Regions from separate parts of the Homo sapiens genome. Here region 2 is linked to region 1. Evidence: promoter capture Hi-C in human tissues and cell types (Jung and others, 2019). All regions are on one chromosome and are shown on one strand. The core of a region is centred on a gene start or on the middle of the fragment in contact, and the rest is flanking DNA. Distances in the headings are between cores, read along the strand shown. Region 1 holds the start of C5 (complement C5). Region 2 has its middle 15 kb from the start of PHF19.

Region 1 (3,565 bases), core at 604-3,103:
TGACTAAACACAGCTTAGAATCTATAAATTGTTAAACTTCAGTTCTGTTGAGAATCTTTGAGATCCATCATTCTCTAAATGTTTTCTACCAGAGAAACAGGACAATGGCTTGCAAATATTGGTTATCAGTATTTACTCTATAGCTCAAGCAAACAAACTTATTTGCACTTAAAATACAAATATTACCTACCTTGATTTGAGTGTTGTTGTTCTCTCTTAAATTTCATTTCCCAAAAATGATGGCAAAAGTACTGTTTGTTTTAACTTGACCCATCTTTTGCAACCCAGCTTAATCATTTCACAGATTCCCTTTTGAAATAAATGGGCTAGATGATCAGACAATAGTGGCAAATGTTTGTCATTTCAATGACATATGCAAGAGATACCTTTAGTGAAATTTGTATATCAAATTTCCCTTTGTGCTCCTTTTTTCCCTAGTGAATTCAGCATTAAAGTGTTTATAAATATTTTTGGTTTATTATTTATTAATTCAAAGCAAAGAATGCCAATGTGACCATAAATATCTCATTTATATATCATAAATATCTCATTATAGAAATATGTTTAGAGACATCTGTTTTATTATTTTAAAGAAGAGTACATATTATATATTAAGGTAAAAATAGTACTAAAAAAGAGAAGGTAGTAAATAAAAAAATTCTAATGAACATAAAACATCATAAAAATTAACTTAATTAAAAATCAGCCAGGCACAGTGGCTCATGCCTGTAATCCCAGTACTTTGGGAGGCCAAGGTGGGTGGATCACCTGAGGTCAGGAGTTCGAGACCAGCCTGGCCAACACGGTGAAACCCTACCTCTACTAAAAATACAAAAAATTAGCTGGATGTGATGGGACATGCCTGTAGTCCCAGCTACTTGGGAGGCTGAGGCAGGAGAATGCCTTGAACCTGGGAGGCAGAGGTTGCCCTGAGCCAAGATAGTGCCACTAGACTCCAGCCTGGGCGACAGAAAGAGACTCTGTCTCCAAAAAAAAAAAAAAAAGTATAAAGATAAAATTTTAGTATATTGTGAATTAATTACTAGACTCAATTGTTATAGGAAGCTTTGTTTTTCTGGAGCTCTTATATTAAAATTATTAAAATCCTCACTGAAAAGTATAACATGTGTTTTCTTTAAAAGAAAGATATTCTATATCTGAATAAAGACAAACTTTGAACGAGTGGTATATGCCTTAATAAATATTGGAGAATATCTATTCTCCAATACTTAGAGAATGACGACAGCATCCTCCACATGGCGTTTTCATTGCCAGTCACAACTTTCCTCCACCTAGTGTTCTCTAGACTGAGACAGACCAAGGAACAATTCCCTAGACCTCCTTTGCAGAGCTAGGTTATGCTCAGACCATTTGCAGCACCAAGGACACTGCCATTCAGGTCACCAAAAAAAGATCATCTTGTGAGCCCTGTCTAAACCAGGCCCCTTCTAAAATCATTTCAGTGTGAAACTGAGTCCAGGTGGGTCTTCATCAGTATTAGAGTGGACCTGCCAGATGTATGCTTGCAGATGATGCAACATCAAAGCAAATGCCCTGGGCAAGAGAAGAAAGGCCAAAGCAATGGGCTTACTGGTTTCTAGCTTTGAGCCACTCTTCATAGTGCCAAATTCCCATTTTAGGGTCCCTTTATTTGTATTAATAAAAATAAATTCCCTGGGTGTAAGTTCCTGTAAAGTACTCCCTATCTGTATTCCTGGGCATGAAAGGGTGTTTTAGTTCCAATTCTAGTTTTCCCACTTAGAGGTTCACCTTTCTGACATTAATAATTAACCAGATTATCTGAATTCTTCAAGTTCAGTTTATTTAAAAGGAGACTATCCTCAAAAGTGTTATATCCGTGGTTTCCTGCTACCTCCAACCATGGGCCTTTTGGGAATACTTTGTTTTTTAATCTTCCTGGGGAAAACCTGGGGACAGGAGCAAACGTAAGTAAAACAAGCTATCTTCATTTTTCAATGCATCTTAGTTATGACGAATGAAGAGTTAAATTTAACAGATTCTGTTAACTTGAAAATAACTTGCTACTTCTGAGAACAGCAAGTGAATAGTATCATCTCTGAATGAGAAAGTCATGGAAGCATTTTGATTTGATGAGTAGCTAACAACATGACAGCTTTTATGGAATTGTTATTTATTAAAATTTACGTTAAGTGATTATTCAAATTCCTCTTCAAAAAAGCACAAAAGAAACTCCAGATAATAAACTTTCTTGACATTTTTTGCTTATTTTAACTTGGTGTTTAGTTTTCTTTGTGTTTTTCATAGACTATACACAGTTAAACCAGGGTTATTTAGGAGTCAATCTAATACTGTGATCTGAAAATCTGTTGTTGTAGTGACTTCTACCATACATTTATGAGCTGACTTTTCACAATTTTTAGTGTCATTATTGAGATAATATGCATTTTAAGTAATGTTTTAAAAATAATGATCTTATATCTAGAAATATTTTAATACTGAAAAGTAACTGCAGATCATCTAATCAAACCTATTCATTTTATATATGAGAATAAGTCCAGATAAGGGAAGTGACTGACCAAAGGTCACAGTTCTAGAGAGAGAGAAACAGGATTTTTATTAAGGTCTCCTGTTTATCACTTCAATTTTTTTCATTTTGTCATAAATGTATACATGTAAATATATTATATATAAACACATACTTAGGATGTCATTCTTTTTTAGCACCCTCGTATTTCTGATCTGTGATCTTTTTACATGGCCACAAGCACTCAACTACCTTAGCATCCTGCCTTTATTCTTTTTGAAAGACGAGCAGCTAAGGCTTAGAGAGACTGAAATTAAGTGACTTCAAATTGGTGGCAGAACTAGGGCTAGGACCTGGGTTCCATGATTCTTGTCCAGACTTATTCTGAATTCTTTCTACTAGCCCTTAATAAAAATTATTTCCTCACTTTCTCTGAAGAAGTCAGAGTGTACCATTTACAACATGGCAATCAATCACTTTAATTAATTGGTTGATTGATTGATTCAACAAATATTTATTGAGCATCTAAACATATGATAGGCACTGCAGATATAGCAAACGGTAAGACAATTCCTAGAGCTTGCATTCTAGTGGGAGAAGCAAGTAATGAATGAATGAACCAATGAAAGAATGTGTAAGGTCAGGTAGGTAGTATTATGAAGAAAAAAATAAAGCAGAGTATGAGAATTAAAAAATAATTATGGGGCACTATTTTAAAATGTGGCCAGGAAAGGTTCTCTTAAGGAGGCTGCACTCAAACAGAGCCTGAAGGAAGTGAGGAAGCAAACCATGCAAATATTTGAGGAAAGAGCATTCCAGATAGAGGCCAAAATAACATTCTTGCCTCTCTGCAAGCTCCTGCTCCTCTGCAGCAATTGAAAGACAAAGAAAACTATGAAATTATTTATATGGATAGATTATGCTACTGATAAGTCAATAAGAACCAAAATCTTTATAAAGGGTGGTTCCAGAATATTCTTTTAGGGGCTTCTAAACACTATGTATTTTTGCTTGACGGCTACCATCACATAGACCAGCAGTCCCCAACCATTTTGGCAC
Region 2 (3,565 bases), core at 773-3,272, 160 kb after region 1:
ACAGGTTCCAAATGAATCCACCATTCCAGTGGTCCAAAAACCGGCCCTACATGGGATCACCCCTGGGCTTGTGAAAACTGGGAGCGCTGGGTGGGCCCCACATGGTTTGAGTCAGTAGTTCTGGAGTGAGGCTGGAGATTTTGCATTTATAAGAGCTCCCAGTCTAGGCTGATGCTCCAGGTCTGGAGCTACACTTTGAGAACCACTGCCCTATGCAACAGTGCCTCTTATGAATAAATTTTAGGCCCTTAGGGAAACCTACAACTCACCATAGACCACCTTCCATCGCAGGGATCTATATGATGTATTTTCTCCCTCGTAACAGTATTAGAGAGTTGCTTTCCTGACTGTCTGCCTGGTGTCCAACCCTCAGAGGGAGTGAGCCCCAGACACTACATTCAGTCATCTCTGAGTGCACCTCCTGTGCACTGCATGACGTGTGCTTTCTAAAGCATGCGTGCATCTGTCAAGCAAAAGGTCAAGGAACCGTTCAAAGATGAATTTGCTCACTTAAGTGATGACCAGGAGAGGGATCAGTCAGGGCTGGGAAGCTTGCAGAAAACTGCCAGAGGCTTCCAGAAAGGGAATGTACAGGGCTAGGGCTAGAGATTGGATGACGGGGGCAGACAGGACAGGGTCTTTAGCACATAAGCATGCTGAGAGGGGAGTGATGGGGCAGCCACACTCAGACAGGGAGCCACCTGCCATCACTGCTATAATCAGAGGGGCCCTGGTGTGGAGGGGAGCAGAGACCTGGGACAAGGAGCTGAGGGAATCGAGAGCTTCTGGAAGGCCTCCCCATTTTATTGACCCAGTGAATCCATGTGGTTTCTCTGTCACACTCTAGCTGGCTTGAGCAAAGGGAGAGCGTCCTCACTCATGTTGCACACATTACTGCCTTTACTAAGTCATTTAACAATGACATTCATAGATGAGGGTATTTCTGGTGTTGAAATAATCACAGCTGCCACTTATTAAGTGCCTGTTACATGCTAGGCACTTTACATCATCTTACTCAATCCTCCCAGCAACTCTGATAAGGTGGCACTGAGATTGTCCCCATTGTACAGACGAGGAAACTGAGGCTAAGAGAGGTTAGTCAGCTTGGCTAAGGTCCCAGTCGCTAGGAAATGGCAGGGCTATTGTCTTTCCATCTCTAAACTGCTGCTTTCCACTCTACCATCCTGCCCTCATTTCCTGAACACCTGCTCTGTGCAAGGCCCTGTGTGCAACCACAAAATGAATCATTCAAGTAGTCATGTATTCAATAACCCTTTTTTTCAGCACTTACTATTTTTATGGGCTTATTTATTTATAGCATGCCTTATTTCAGAAAGCACTTAACTTCTTTATTTGATATACAAGCATAAAATTTTACAGGAGTGGTCATGTGACAAGCATCAAACGAAAAACAGAAGTTGGAAAGGTCAGAAGCACCCAGGAATGACAGGTATACAAGTGTGGACCTTGAGGTCCTATATGCCATGGGGACAGGCCACAAATTGCCCTCTGACCTTTCTAGCAGCTAAAACTTGATCCCACGCAATTCAGTGTCCATAAGACACTGGCACACCATTGCTGAGGCAAATCAAAACTCTATTAGGCCCTGAGACCTGAGAGGTATTTTTTTAGAGAGTTGGCATGAAGAGAACACTGTTAAACGTGAGGAACAATGTCCCCAAACAGCCTCCCAATTGCACGTACGGCACAAGTCTCAGGGGCCGTTTCCTGTACCCGCTCCCCACCGCCTCCCCACTCCTACTCCGTGCTGGCCCAAGTCCCATAGCAGGAAAACAGCTCAAAAAAGAGAGAGCCGAGACAAGGCCAGGCAAGCACACCACCCTCTAGCTTCATCCACGTGTGGGGTTTGCCGCAAACATTGGTAATAGATGCTAAATTCAGGTCCCAGGTAAGTTTTGTTTGGTCTGAGCTGTGTACTTAAATGGCTTGAATTAGTTGTCAGCTTTAAACAAGTTTCACCTTTTTAAAAATTCAGATTTTTGGCATTCTCTTTTTAAAAAAGAGGGACTTGACAACATGGGGCCCACATTCCCAAAGGACAAGAATTTGCTAGAGCCAGTCGTTTTCCAGTCCCCGCATGGTCCCCTGGAGGCCTTTCTTTGCTTTGAACTTTCCTACCTGGCTCTGCAAGGCGTCAGGGGTTTGCAGCCTGTTTTAGGATGTTTTGAGCCCTGGCACATTTGTGTGCAGAAGGATCACCAGGAGACTTGTTTATAGCACAGGGTCCCTGGTCTGGCTCCTTGGATTTGGGGTGGGGCTCAGACAGGCATCCTTCTACCAGGTGACTGTGATGCTTCCGTCTCTCCTAACAAGCACGGAAGACTGGGTGGGGCCTGTGGGGGACTATACAGCTGCTCAATGCTACTGACTCAGATAAACAGATGACTAGTTTTCTTTCAACACAACAAATATGGCAAATATAGTGGGGTTCCGAGTTCAAGGTTATACTCCCCGAGGTGCCTGGAGTGCAGCTCCTCTAAGTGGCTGGGTGGGTCTTGAGTCGTGTGCTGTAAATTATGGTGGCGCTCCACCTGGGCTGCACCTTGAACCACCCGGGGAGCTTTTCAACCCACACTCTTCACCCCATGCCTAGGCCACATCCAGGCCAATCAAACCAGAGTCTCTGAAGATAAGAACACAGGCATCAGCATGTTAAGGTTCCCGGGGTGATCCCAAAGTACGGCAGGTGTGCGGGCTTAAGATTGAGCAAGGTTCTCTAGGCCAATACCTTCTCTAGATATTGACTGTAGCTGGACCAAGTTCCTCAGAGAGGGGAGGGGAGGGAAGGAGAGGAGAAGAAGGGGAAAGGAGGGGAGAGGAGGGGAGAGAAGGGAAGAGGGCGGGAGAGGCAGATGAGTAAATGGATCCTTACACTAACTGTGATGAGCAGAAACCCAGGCGCTCTGGGGCATGAGCAGGGATACCTAACCCAGCCCTGGGGGCTCAATCTCTCCCCACCCCTGCAGGAGAGGCTTGGGGTGAGTTTTGGGAATAAGGACCATCCAGCCACATGACGAAGGGGAAGGAAAATCCCCATCAAGGCAAAAACACAGTCCAAGGCTCTGAGGCCCAAATTCCGGGGAGAGGGGTGAAGGTTGTTTGTCGCACCTGGGTTAAAGGGTGGGGGTGGAGAGTAGGAGAAGAGGCTACACAGGTGAGAAGGTGTCAGATCACAAAGGGCCTTGTATGCCAAACTAAGAAGACTGAACTTGACCATGAAGTTAGGCAGACCCTCTGGAGAGTTTTAAAGCAAGGAGTCGTGTGGATGAACAAACCTGTGATGGGCTGGGGTTACCAAGGAGGGCTTCCTGGAGGAGGTCAGACTTGAGCTGAGGGAAGGATAGGATTTGGAGAGCTGACATTCTGATGAGCGGCTTCGGTTAAAGCTCACAAAAACCCTTCCCTCCCCCATGCCCTTTGAAATCATTTGAATCAAAGATTGCGTGTGTTAAAGACATGTTTGTCTGTTATCTGAAAGCTGTGGTTTCTCTTTAACAGATTCAGGGCCTCATCCTTTGACTCGGAACCAGGAAGGAATTAGGAG

Evidence for each region. The method cuts DNA at HindIII sites, captures the fragments that hold promoters and counts their contacts. A contact is called where the count stands out against the background at its distance.
Region 2: a fragment that was not itself captured here is called in contact with the fragment with the promoter of C5 in region 1 in 4 of the 25 tissues and cell types used here (dorsolateral prefrontal cortex, pancreas, psoas muscle and 1 more).

What each region holds. Positions count from the first base shown.
Region 1 is chr9:121,048,563-121,052,127 of GRCh38, reverse strand. C5 (complement C5) reads left to right here and starts at 1,853. Exons shown (of 41, transcript NM_001735.3): 1 at 1,853-1,946. The coding sequence starts at 1,882. The HindIII fragment of the contact is 13,591 bases long and covers 1-3,565 here.
Region 2 is chr9:120,890,533-120,894,097 of GRCh38, reverse strand. It overlaps a transcript of PHF19 not described here. Among named protein-coding and RNA genes, the nearest start is that of PHF19, 15 kb to the right of the region's middle. RefSeq lists an enhancer at 1,258-1,477. The HindIII fragment of the contact is 5,425 bases long and covers 1-3,565 here.